2 separate regions of the Homo sapiens genome follow, and region 1 is linked to region 2. The links are contacts of gene promoters, found by promoter capture Hi-C in human tissues and cell types (Jung and others, 2019). All regions are on one chromosome and are shown on one strand. The core of a region is centred on a gene start or on the middle of the fragment in contact, and the rest is flanking DNA. Distances in the headings are between cores, read along the strand shown. Region 1 overlaps UVRAG (UV radiation resistance associated). Region 2 holds the start of UVRAG (UV radiation resistance associated).

The links. Contacts are between HindIII fragments. The study calls those that stand out against the background at their distance.
Region 1: a fragment that was not itself captured here is called in contact with the fragment with the promoter of UVRAG in region 2 in 2 of the 25 tissues and cell types used here (H1 embryonic stem cells and hippocampus).

The regions. Positions count from the first base shown.
Region 1 is chr11:76,113,840-76,120,722 of GRCh38, reverse strand. It overlaps UVRAG (UV radiation resistance associated), which reads right to left. Exons shown (of 15, transcript NM_003369.4): 14 at 4,708-4,799. Among named protein-coding and RNA genes, the nearest start is that of WNT11, 89 kb to the left of the region's middle. RefSeq lists an enhancer at 1-180. The HindIII fragment of the contact is 4,823 bases long and covers 1,685-6,507 here.
Region 2 is chr11:75,810,890-75,817,329 of GRCh38, reverse strand. UVRAG (UV radiation resistance associated) reads right to left here and starts at 2,120. Exons shown (of 15, transcript NM_003369.4): 1 at 1,806-2,120. The coding sequence starts at 1,922. UVRAG-DT (UVRAG divergent transcript) reads left to right here and starts at 2,533. Exons shown (of 2, transcript NR_144531.1): 1 at 2,533-2,867; 2 at 3,469-3,816. RefSeq lists a silencer at 1,797-1,996 and enhancers at 2,292-2,586, 2,457-2,886, 2,810-4,009. The HindIII fragment of the contact is 17,046 bases long and covers 1-6,440 here.

The sequences.
Region 1 (6,883 bases), core at 2,847-5,346, 300 kb before region 2:
TGTAGCATTCATTTTGCAGTGCTTTGCATCTACTTTAGTAGCCTATTTTACGTTACAGTACCATAAAGTGACACATTCCTGTTCACTCAGTGTTAATATGCTTGGCACAGCTGGCACAGAGGGGCACTACATTTATAAATGTATGAGCTTGGAGCTTAATGGGTTTGCTGCAACAGTGCCAGGACACCTAGATTCTACTTTTATTGCTACAGGTTCATGGGTCAATTATGCCTGGAAAGTCAATTAATTTCTCCGTACCTTAGAACTGAGAGTTGCTGGAAATTACAGTGTTTTAGGAGTAGAAGGGCAGTCAGGTTGCAATGAGGAAGCATTTATATGTAAATAATTTGAGTAAATTGTCTACAGACATCTCAGAAGAAAAGGACCTAATCCCTAAGGTTCCAGTAATTTGTTGTGATTTGTTTCTCATTCCAAATGCTTTTTCATCTCTAATTTTGTATTTGTAATTTTGTATTCTTTTTCTTAAAAAGGATTGCCAAGGAACCACAAAGCCCAGATTCTCCCCATTCTTAAAATGAATTTGCATTCCAGCCAAGGTGCCTATTCATTGCCAATAAAGCTGCTGTGTTCATAAAGCGGCTTTTCTTAAACTATTCCCTCTCTATGAGGCGATGAGGTGAGGAAGGTGGTAGGAAAGAAGGAAGAGACAGAGCACATTCTACACAGAGGAAGAGTGAGTGCAACCACTCAGACAGGAAAGAGCTTATTCACATGACTACACAGAGGCCAGTACAGCGACAGGACGTGAGAGTGGAAAGGGAGTGGTATCAGATGAGGCAGAGGCCAAGTAGACTATGGAAGAAAACTTGGATTTCACTCTTGCCACTGAAGCTGAAGAGTGATTAAGATCTAGCCAACATTTAGAAAGATCATCCTGGCTACTTTGGAGAGTGGACAGAGGCAGGACAAGACAAGGAGACAAATTGCACTGGTGCAGCTGTTTGGGTAAGAAAAGGTGGTGGCTTGGACTGGAGTGGCAATAGCAGAGATGGGAAGTGAACAGATTGATATGTATTTTGCAGATAGTGATGACAGGGCTTGCTGATGAATAAGATTAGCTCTGATGTGAGTGGAGAAAAGAAGGGGATCAAGGATGATTCCCTGGTTTGAGCAACTGGGTAGACAGGGTCCCATTAGCTGACAGGAATTATGCTGGTGGAAGGAGGGTTTTAGCTGTGTTGAGGCTGAGATGCTTCTAATACTCCCAGGGGCAGAGTCAAGTAGGCCCCTGGCTATCCAGAGTGTGCAGGAGAGGTTTACACTGAAGACAAAACTTTGGGAGTCATAAGCATAACAGCTTTCAAAATGATGGGAATGGGTGAGAACACTTAAGAAGAGGGTAGAGAGGAGGCGGAGGAGGAAAGAAAAAAAGAGAAGAGAGTACAGAGAGAAAAAGGGAAGAGGGCCTAAGATGGGGCCATGGAGAAGCTAGAAGCAGAAAGCCAGGAGAGGGCAGTCCTGTGGAAGATAACAAGGAAGAGTGTTTCAGGAAGGCAGGAATGGCCAGCAAGGCCAGGTGCCACTGAACAGGATAAGGATGAAAAGTGACCTTTGAGTTTGGGTCTATGTTTAGAATTCGGTAGGCACCAAGCTAGATAAAAGGAATTTCAGTATACTCATAGAACTAAAAATCAGACTGGAGTGAGTTAACTAGGAATTGGAGAAATGAAACAGAAACAGACCTGTAAGCATTACAGAAATTAAATCAGTAGTTAAAAATCTACACTCTCCCCAGCAACAAACAAAAAACAGTAGTTTTTTTCTAGGTTCTACCATACCTTTAAGATAGAGATACTTCCTCCTATCTTATATGAACTGTTCTGGAGAATAGAAAAGAAGGTAAAGATCCTCAATTTATTTTATGAAGCTCTTATAACCTCATCATGTTTGCTCAATTCTAACCAAAATCAGACAAGGATTTTATGTGAAAGAAAAACTGTAGGCCAGTCTCATTTCAGTTTGCAGATGGAGACATTCTAAAATATTAGCCAAGGAATCCAATAATGTAGGAAAAAATAATACACATGACCAGGGGGCAAAGATGGTTTAACATTAGAAAAATGTAGTGTTACCTCAACAGATTCAGAATAAACATGGTAAAATTCAAAATACACATATTCATGATTAAAAAACAACTCTTAGTAACCTGAGAACAGAAAAATTCTTCCTTCTGCTAATGCAGGATATCTACCCCAATCTACAATAAATATAATACTTAATGGTGAAAAATTAGAAGCATTCTCTTTGAAGTCAGAAGACAAGGATACCCACTATCACTGCTCCTGTTCTGTAATAAAACATAGTAAGACAAGAAAAAGTAACGAAGTTATAAAAATAGAAACAATACCATTATTCACTAAAAATATGATTGTATACACAAAAAATCCAAGAGAATCGAAACAAACTATTGTAACTAATGTTAGCCAGAACACACTCTCAAAATACTAAAAATCAGTGCTATTCCTGTACATCAGCCAGAAAATGTTAACTATTATAATAAAAAAATTTACAACAGCAACCAAAACTGTAAGCTAATAGGACTAAGTATATCTAATAAAAGATGCATAGACTTTTATGAAGAAAATTATAAACCTCATGGAGGTATGTTTTAAAAAAGCAAGCGATGTAACATGTTCATAGTTAGGAAGACCCAATGTCATAAAACTGTGAAATCACTCAAAGACTCAAGTCAAGAAAAGCCAAGAGTTTTGAAGAAGAGCCTTCCCTAACAGATATTTCCCTAACAGATATGGAGGTTAGCTTTTCCCTAACAGATATCAAGAAAATTGGAGGTATTTTCCTTTTCTGTTCCTATGAAGGAACATGGCTTTAGGAGTTAACACTCTTGGCTCTCTCCATCCTCTCACTCTCTCAGAGGAGGAGGGACTTTCCTGATTGGTGAATCTAGAGGGCAAAATAGCAACTGGGTATTCTTGGCTCAGCCCTATCTGGGCTCCTGAAGAAAAGTCACCTGATCGCTGTCTGCCAATGTAGTTAAGGGCCTGCCTCTGTAGGGAAAGCCTATGGCTCTCCAGTTTACATTGTGATTATGAGGATAAGTTCAATTTTGAGTGACATCTTTGCAAGCCCGTTTTATTTCAGATCTAAAGCCCCATTTTCCAAGTAGCTTTATCAATAGTAAAATGGACATTTTGATTTTTATTTCATTCTCAAATCTCAACAACACTTTTAGAAATTACATCTTACAATAATTAAAAATGTCATACTAATCGATGGCTAGCCAAATAAAGCAACAGAACAGAATAGGGATCCTGGAAATGGATCTCTATGGATAAGCGAACTTGGTTTACAAAAGAGATGCCATTATCATCAGTGGAGAAAAGACAGACACTTCAGTAAATGGTTCAGGGACAATCTGCTATCTGTACTGAGCAAGATTCATTTAGTGTGATTAATTAGTGTTGTAGGTTGCCAATTTTCTCATTATTTTAGGTTATTTACCATTGTGTTAGAAAACCTCTTCATGAATTCTGTGCCTTGTTTCCAACTGGACCACAAATCTCTTGGGGACAGGGCTTGAGCTTTCTCATCTCTCTAAAGCACCTATCACAGAGCTTTACACAGAGACAAGCTAAATAAATACCTGCTAGCTCACTTTTATTATTCTTATTACTTTACTTTAAAACTTAATTCCTCTCTCATATTCCTGAAGGCATCCGGGTCCATATCAACACCAAGCTTTAATAATTATTTTGATGTTTTGAGTGGAATTCTTTAAACAGTTGTGTATTTGCTTAACAGGAGTCCTATCTAAGACCAGACATCTGGAACTTGCCGTTTTGAAAATCAAAGTAAAGACCAACCACAGTTTTTTTACTTTTCTGAAGGCACATCAGCAGAGCAAATCAAATTTCAGAGAGGTAGAATTTCAAATCCACACAGCAGATGATGAGAAAAATACCTGGAATCAGAAGCCAGTGCTGCCCCCAGCTGTCTAACTCTACAGGCCTGCTTTCCAGGCACGTGATTTTGTAAGTTACTGCCCACTACCCAAGGATTCAAACTTCAAGAATTACTAAATGGATACAGCCAACAACTTTCCATTTAGGTCAAGTGAATGAATCTAATGTCTTCTTTCTATCAGACTTCCCCTCTCTCCTTCTCTTTTCAAAGGTCCATGTCTATCCTGACGGAGCACTTTCAGCAGCAGCTTGCCCTCACGGTTCAACAGGTACTGACACCACACACAAGAAACATTTCAGAATGTACCTACTGGTCTCAAACTAAGTCCTGACCCCCTGACCTATTCCTTATCTGCTTTCTTCCTTTAATGCTCACAGCCATGGTCCTGATGCTCATTCTATAATCAGGCCCTTCACCTGTTCTTTGGAAAGGTCCAAGGGGCTCTGGGTCTCCCTTACCATGAATCATACTGGCTGTCTTCCAGTTTGTCTCAGCAATGCCCTCAAGGGCTCCTTGCTCAGCCACCTTCCCAAAGTTCAAGCAATATCCCCTTGGCCCCTCCTCCCTCCAAGGGGGCTACATCCTCCTTAGCCAGACGGGAGCTTAGATCTCCCCAACTGTGATGGCGCCTTTCATTTTCCTCCCATATCTCATTACAGAAGAAAACTCAGAGGCAGGTGTGGAGCAATGTGGAAGTCAGAAAAGATTTTCAGGATCCTATCCACATTACAGTTTCTGGTTATCAGAGATAAAGGTACTCACCACCTGACCATTAGTCCATGCTCCATGAAGTTTTTCAGGTTGGGAAGGGTTTGCCGCAAGTCTGGAGTCCCTAGTCCATGTTGATATCTTAGCTGTGAAGGTGAAAAAATAGAATTAAAGATATTTTGGCAGATTATAAGCTTCGGAAAAATGAACCACTAAACAAGTTATTTTTTTGAACTCTAAAAGAGGAAATGTAAATGTTTGATACTATTATCAGCCTCACAGTACTTTCCACTTACTGGGTATTTGACATATAGATAAGCACGTGTATGAGTATGCACACCCACTTAAATTACGATGGTATTTAAGGTAGCCTCTTCATCTACTTACTGTTCTCTTGCCCCCTAAACTTAGAGAAGACTAAGAGTGACCAACTGTGGAATGAGGATATTTCAAAGACCCCTGTATCTAGCCTTCTTTTCTACCCCCAGACCCTGGTAGGGTTTGCTAACACCAACTCCAGGGACATATACCAGAAAACCAGTGTTTCTTTTTAGATATTGCCAGCTTCCATTCAGCCCTCCCCTTTGTATAAACAAGGGTAAGGACCATCTTGTATTCATCTCTGACTCCAATAGTGTCTGGCATAGTGCTGGTACTTATTCAATGCTTATTAAACAAATACATTGCAACTCACTTTTGACAGAGGCTGTGCTCTGTATTTCTCTTGAGTCTCTAACGTTCCTCTTTGTCCAGACCAGAGCACATAGCTGGAGAGGTGGTACAGGGAAACTGCTGGTTTGTGGGCTAGATCTGCCCTTTGTTTGATTTATTTCTGGTAGAGGCCAATTTTCTAAAATTAAGTGTCCTTCTGAGTACTCTGGATAAGTTGCTAATGGTTTTCATCGGTCTGTTCTTCACTTCCTTTCACTGTGTCTCTGAGTATCACCATTTGCTTCCGTAACTGACCATAAAGGAGAGCCGAAGTAAGTGGATGTGCATATTCTCACACATGCTCATCCACACATCAAACACACAGTAAGTGGACAACACAGCTCTGCAAAAATGTGTTTTTCAAATGACATATTACACATGAAGAAAGTTTATAGACTTTATAAAATGTATGTCTGTGTACAAATGTGAAGGGGCATCGGTCTTAAGGTTTAACTCTTTTAGCACTTAAATTTAAGAGTGGCTAAGTCAAACTTTTAAATATATCCCTCTCTTAAAGAATAAAACCACAAATCATGTGAATAGAAAGCAGGCCTTCAGAGTAAGACAACAGGGGGCATAAATAAACACCTACTAAAAACAGTCAGTTTTCTTTTGTTTGACTCTAGAATTCAACTGATTTTTCTCTGCTTGAGTGATACTTAGAGAAAGAGTTCACTCTCACTGATTCTGGGCTTTTTAAGAAAAACCTCCAAACATAACTGGGTCTCCTGAATGGTTTGAATGAATACACACATAAAGTAAGGATGTAGAAACATACAATGTTAAAACTAAAAGGTATCTTGAATATTATTTCAGCCAATCCTTTTCTTTTGCAGATGGGAAAACTGAACCCCAGAAAGGGGAAGTAAATTATCCAGGGCCGCATGGTTCAATGGCAAAGATATTATCAGCCAGGGCCTCCTTTTCACAAACCATGCTACTCTCTACCACCTACCCCAAAGTCTGAGACGAAAACTGGTAACAATACTTGAGAAAGCAGAAGGAAAATAGTTTTTTCCTTTTTCAAACCTAGCTTGGTGACCTAAATCACCTCCTGAGATTTGCAGACCTTGAATTATAAGATCTACCCCATATTAAATGACATCATTTCTTGTATTAATATAAATGCATTTTTCCATACATTGATAAAAGCAAAATGGCTGATATCCCAACATGACGTTCCTGAATTCATTGTTTCAATAAGAAGTGAAATCGTTTACACATGGCATGGAAATTTTACCTGTGATTCATACCGAAAAATATTAAACATCAAGGAAAAAAAAAAACTTACTGAAATAACACTAAGCTATGTGTCTCCGAGTGAGTACACAGACAATTGCCTGCCCCAGGTTCCACAACGGAAGATGGGTGTTGAACTGTTTTCAGAGACCACAGTGAAAATTTCTCTCCAAGTCTGATTTTAACCAAAAAAAAGAAAAATGTGGGAATTTCAAGCCTCTGTCTGGGTCTTAACTCTCCATTTGCTGCATAGTACTATTTTTTTTTTAAATCATAGAAT
Region 2 (6,440 bases), core at 871-3,370:
ATAGGCTCCATGAAGTAAATGATGCTTTCTCTTTCCTAATCCCACACACTCTCGAAGCTCCCCCAAACTAAAACCTTCTTGGCCCCTGAACTCCTTAGGACTTCTCCAGGGTGTTTCTAACGGTGCTCCCTATTCCCTCTCCCAGTAACCACTCTCACACTCTACCTCCCACACATACAAAAACTCACATTAATGCTCACTCCAGAGACGTGTCTCCCTCCCTAGCCAGACTTCTACCCTCTCCCTGTATCTCACAACACAATCCAAACCCCCACTACCCTCAAACTCCCACTATTCAGAAATTCCCTGCCAACAGCATCACAAAACCAGGGCACATGGTATCTTTTCAATCCTCTTCGGTAGTAGTCACACAAAAAGCCGTTGCTACTGTAAGCTCTTCTGCCTGCCTATTCAAAGGCAACCACAGTGGTTATTATCTCCAACTCTTCTCTTCCCTTTAGCCCCCGCCTCCTTTACTGCACTCAAATCCATTTCACTTTTCAACCACTCTCTCCCCTACAACCTCTCCCTTCCTCTTTCTGAATCCTTCCTAAGTCCCACTGGTAGCTGATGGAAAGTTGGAGGGGTGTATGAAAGAACTCACTCTGTCCTGTGTAAAGGTGGTGGAGGAAGGCTGCCCAAGTCTCAAGCACGTGCATGGCTGCAGAGTCAGACACTGGATTCTGCAACCCAGCCCCACCACTTACTAACTGGAAGGCTCTGGACAAGCCTCAGTTTCCTCAACTGCCAAATGGGGGTAATAAAAACAGCTATCTCACAGAGTTGTGAAAATTCAGTGAACTAATGGCCACTGAGCCCTTTGCACAAATCCAACACGGTAAGTTCTCAGTAAATGACAGTTTCTCTAGATCCTCTTCTTGGCAGGAGGAATAAAGGGAGAGGGTGAAAGGTATTCTTTAGGTCTCTTTAATGCTAAGATTCCTGCAAAATCTCCCCTTGGGGGACAGAAGGAAGGCAACCGATATAAGGAGGGAAGTACTCTACAGATATGTGAGTGAAACAAAGAGTTTTGTCACATCTCCAAAGTCAGTGTTTCCCCCTTCTTATCTTCCTACAACGCAGAGCCAAGAAGTCCTCAAAGCCCTTCCTAAAGGATGGAGGAACACATGAATATATACATCAAATCCTCCTTCCACAGAGACTCACTGAAGGGAATGAAGAAGGAAAAAGTCCTCCTAATTATTAAGATGCGTTCCTTGGGACTCGGAGAATTAGGAAGGAAACCCCCAAGTCTTGAATACATTTCTCTAAAGAGGCCGAATACTTAATAATCAGGGGAGATTAAAGCAAATGGTAGACACCCTAAAGTCTCCTCCAGGGCTCTTGCACGAAGAGTACAAACTGGTTTCTCCGTAAGCGGGGATGGCCAGGTGGGGAAAGAAAGGAAAAGTGCTTTCACTATGGCCCGTGGGACACAGGGGGTTCCCCGGGTCCCTTCCTGGGCGGAACGAGGGAGAGGGTCTGCGCGGGGCAATCCCCGGCTCCCTGCGTTGGGGGAGGCGGCCTCGGGCCGGGGCCCCAGGGACTTGAGCTGGCTGGCTGCTTGTCCCTTAACAAGCCCATCTCCTGTAACGGGATTCTCCTAGGACTCCGGGATCTCCCGGAGGTTCGGCCATCACTGGACCCCTCCCCGCACAAACCTCCTGACAGTCTTCCTCAGTCCCGCGAGCCCTCCGGGTCCCTGCTCTGGGTGTCCCGGCTCGCGGGGTCAGCCCGGAGCCAGCAAGCTCTCCACGCGGGCCTGCCCGGGTCCCTCCCGAGTGCTGCGAGCCGCGCGGGCTTACCTGCTGAGACGGCAGCTCCACATGCAGGGCCCGCGCGGCAGAACCGGGAGGCAGAGCAGCGGCCGGGCCCGGGGGTGGCTGGGGGACGGGGCCCCCGACCGACGCGGAGGCGCTCATCTCGATCCAGGGGCCGCCAAGCGGCGGGGCGGGCACTCTTCCGGCATCCGCCGCCGCCCCCTTGCCACCACCTACCAAGCCCCTGCAGCCTAGAAACCCGCCACCCGAGAGGCACTACTGCTCAGCCCAGACAGTAGCCGCCGCCGCTGCCGCCGCTGCCGCCGTTGCCGCCGCTGGCTAAGGAAGAGCCATATTACCGCAGTGCAACCCCTCCACCCCGCTGAGACCCGGAGCGCTCATTGGCTTAGCCCTCAAGGGGGCGGGACCCAACGGCAGAAAAGGGGCGTGCTATTGGGTAGAAGGTCTGTCCATCGCTGGCATTACTGGACTTGGGGGCGGAGGGACTCAAGGATGGCCTCAATTGCGTCTGTCAAGCCGGGGTGAAACCTGGGGCGTTGCTTCTTTTTTTCCCAGTCTAATTGGTTCTTTTACTACCAACGGGCAGAGTCTCCTGGTGGAGGCGGAAGGGCCATTGCAAGAGGTCGCTGTCAATTGTCAGTAAAGGGAAAGAGGGGTGGGGTCTTGATTAGGTAGAGCGCGCTTCTGGGCTCCGGTGTCACGTGCAGGAGGCGGGAGAGTCACCTGATTAGGGAGAACCGGTCTTCTGAGCCACTTCCGCCCTCACTGGTTGCCGTGGTAACAGGCCTCCGGTGGAGGGCGGGGACCCTCGGAAGCCAGCTGGGTGGCGATCGCTTGTCTGCCTTGGCAGGCCCCTTGTGCAGTCTTTTCCCGGCGTGAGCGTGCAGGGATTGAAAAGGAATGCTTTATGGTTCAGCAGAGAGCCACCACGCAGGATGCACTGGGACCTGAGAACCGTCGGGCAGTCCCACGAGCTCTTTCATGACCAGCTCCAACCGACAAGTACACGCCCCTTCGCACTCCACTAGCTAGTAAGCTGAGCTACAAGGTGTGCCAGGCACCCAGGACGCCGATTCACCGCTTCAGGTGGGCTGTTTGTGCTGTGTCCCCAGAAAGCCTTTGCTACTTATCCATCAGTCTTAGCTGGGGCAGGAGTCCCTTCTTCCAAAAGGCTTCTCTGAGCCTCTCTGGGACCTTGAGTTAGGAATTTTGACCCTACCGTGGGTCTGGATTATTCTATTAATTTTTTTTAACAGTGCCTCATTCTTTCGCCCGGGCTGGAGTGCAGTGGCAAAATCACGGCTCATTGCAGCCTCGACCTCCTGGGCTCAAGTGATCCTCCCACCTCACCCTCCTAAGTAGCTGGGAATACAGGCACATGCCACCAGGCCCAGCTAATTTTAAAATTTTTTTGTAAAGATGGGGTTCTGGCCATATTTCCCAGACTAGTCTCAAACTCCCAGGCTCAAGCGATCCTCCAGTCTCGGGCTCCCAAAGTGTTGGGATTACAGGCATGAGCCACCAGGCCTGGCCACATTGTCTTTTAACACATGTAAGCAGCCACCCTCCTTCCCACACACACACAAAATACTGTGAATTCTTCAAGCAAAAGGACTTTGTCTGATTCATCTCTGGATCCCCAGTGCCTGACAGAGAATCAGGAAATTTTTTTTTTTTTTTTTTGCAGTGAAGGCCCAGCTCAAATGCCACCTCTTCCATGAAGACTTCCGTGATCCACAATGATAGCATCTCCAGCAATTGCTTCTATAATGAATAGCATGAGTCATTCTGCAGGATGTTGATCTTCCTTTTTTTACTCCTAGACTGAATTTTTCCACCACCTGGATGAACATAGCAGAAAGAACATAGTGTTTTAGAGTCAGACACAATAGGAATCAGGCACTTTGGAATCTTGGCTCTACCACCTTTGAGCTATGTATCCCAAGGCAAGTCACTTCCCCTCTCTCAGCTTTAAAATAGTAATAGGATTGCTGTAGGGATTAAAGTAAATCAACATATGTAAAGTGCCCACACAGGACCTGGCATATAGTAGTTGCATTTTAAATTTTTTAAACAAAATGTAAGCATACTATCTTTCCAGGGTGTTCAGAAGCCTGAAAAACACCTTGGATCTTTTCTCAGAGCTGGATCACAAAGATGTCACACTGTCTCCTGTTCTGACACACTGAGTGGTTCCTCATGGCTGGAGCCTGGGGCGTGTGGTCAGGTGTTTGTTGAGAAAGGAGTCGCTTGATCAGGTGTTTGTTGAGAAAGGAGTCACTGGGAAATCCCAAATATTATCTGATTGAACTCATGTGGTGCCAAGATCTGGGGGAATTTCACAGAAAACACATTTCTGTTTCTAAGCTGTATTAGTTTTCTGAGGCTGCCATAACACATTATCACAATTCTTGCTTGAGCCCAAGAATTTGGGACCAGCCTGGGCAACATGGCAAAACCTTGTCTCTACAAAAATACAAAAATTAGCCCAGCATGTCGTTTTCACCTATAGTCCCAGCTACTGAGGAGGCTGAGGTGGGAGGATTACCTGAGCCTGGGGAGGTTGAGGCTGCAGTGAGTCAAGATCATGCCACTGTACTCCAGCTTGGGCAACAGACTGAGACCCCATATCAAAAACAAACGAAGAGTGATCATCCAGTTACTCACTGCTGGGTCTGAGGGAAGCCCAAAGGCAGTGGGAGCCAGAGAAAATAGTTGAGAGTCAGATTTCACAGTGGAGGTGACATTGAAACAGGGTATTGAAGGGCCAATAAGAGTTCACCAAGTCAGGAGAGAGGGAGGAAAGGACATTCCAGCAGAGAGCAGGATCTATTCTTTCCACAAGCCTTTACTGAGGTTCACCTTTGCACAGGCTAGCTACTGGGTTCTGGAAATGCAGAGCTCAAGTAAACAACCCTTCTCCCACTTTTCCCAAATGCCGAAAACATTAGGAGAACTAGGACTCTCATCCCTAGGGGCATTGGGAAGAACTCAAAAGCCTGCTGCTTGCAAAGTATTCAAGATGATGTAAAGCATTTAACACACTGTCTGGGAGATAGTACATTTTTAATAAATACTAGCTGTCATTATTTTCATATGTCCTATTTCATTCTAAAAACTTTTCTTTCTTGTTTTTGAGACAGAGTCTCTCTCTGTGACTCAGGCTGGAGTGCAGTGGTGCGATCTCAGCTCACTGCTACCTCTGCCTCCCAGGTTCAAGTGATTCTCCTGCCTCAGCCTCCCAAGTAGCTGGGACTACAGGCATGCACCACCACACCCAGCTAAGTTTTTTTGTATTTTTAGTAGAGACAGGATTTCACCATGTTGGTCAGGGTGGTCTTGAACTCCTGACCTCAAATGATCCACCCACCTCAGCCTCCCAAAGTGCTGGGATTACAGGCATGAGCCACCGCGCCCGGCCCTAAAAACTCTTTTATTATTGGGATCCTATTTCATAATATGGCTGATTGTTTCAACATAAAAATATTTTAAATCACAGAATTAAATTATTATAATATTTACATAGTGCTATATATCCCCCAGAGAAACATATATCCAAGTTTAGAGAACATAGATTATAAGGTGGCCAAATGCAATGTATATGCAATGATAGAAGGGGTCCAAGGTCAAGTGGTAAGAGTGACCAACTCTTCAGGAGCTGGTGGGCAAGGTCAGAGCAGGCTTCACCAAAGTTATAAAGGATGATTGGGAGTTTAGTAGATGAACAATAGGTGTTTAGATCTGTTTGGCTCGGGAATAGCTAGTGTTTTAACAGCTAATTAGTACCATGTTGGGTATTTAAATCAAACATTCAGTTTCCAGGGCCAAAAAGCTAAGCCTACCCCAATCCATTTGCCTCCACTTCCTCCTCCCACCTCATGGGCCTGATGCATTGGGTAAACAAGAGCAAGATAGGGCAGATGGGTCTTTCAGTGTCTCAAACTGTATTGAGTTAAATCTATCCCCTTCCTTTCAACAGAGCCCTCTTTCTTCCATTCACTTACCTGTCTAGTCAAACACCCATCAGACCTTTGCCAGGTGTCCAGCCTGGGCACTACGTTTCAGAAAATGATGCACATAGAATCCCTAACTGAAAGGAGATCGCAGCTCATTTGGTACAAAGTGGTAAGTACAATAATCGAGATGATGTATAAAGTACAGTGGAAGCACTAAGAGAAAGGTGCTAACTGTCACGTGTTGTCCAGGAAGGCTTCCTAGGAGAGGAGAGTATTCTATGCAGGAGGAACAGCATGAGCAAAGGCACAGGGGTAGAGGAAGTGACAGCAGCAGAGTCTAACATGGCTGAAACAAAGGCTGCATGGGAGAGCAACAGGCAAAAAGATTGGAAGAGGAAGCTAGGGCCGGGTGAGAAGAACCTGACTACCAGGCCGAAGAACATGAGTTTCATCGTGGGCAACAGAAAGCACTTAGAAAGATGGCTCAGGCAGCCTTGGGGGAGGGGTAGCTTTGAAGGGGCAGGACTAGAAGAGTGAGACGCTTGCAGAAAGCAGGTGAGAATTGTAAAAGAAAAAGGCCATTCCCCAAAGAAACTGCACATACCCAAGAACCCTGAAAGGCAGGTGCCTAGACAGCATTTTCCCTTCTCCTTTCCCAACTCGGCAAGGTCATTTTCTCAAAAAAGGCTTCCCAGGTCTGAAC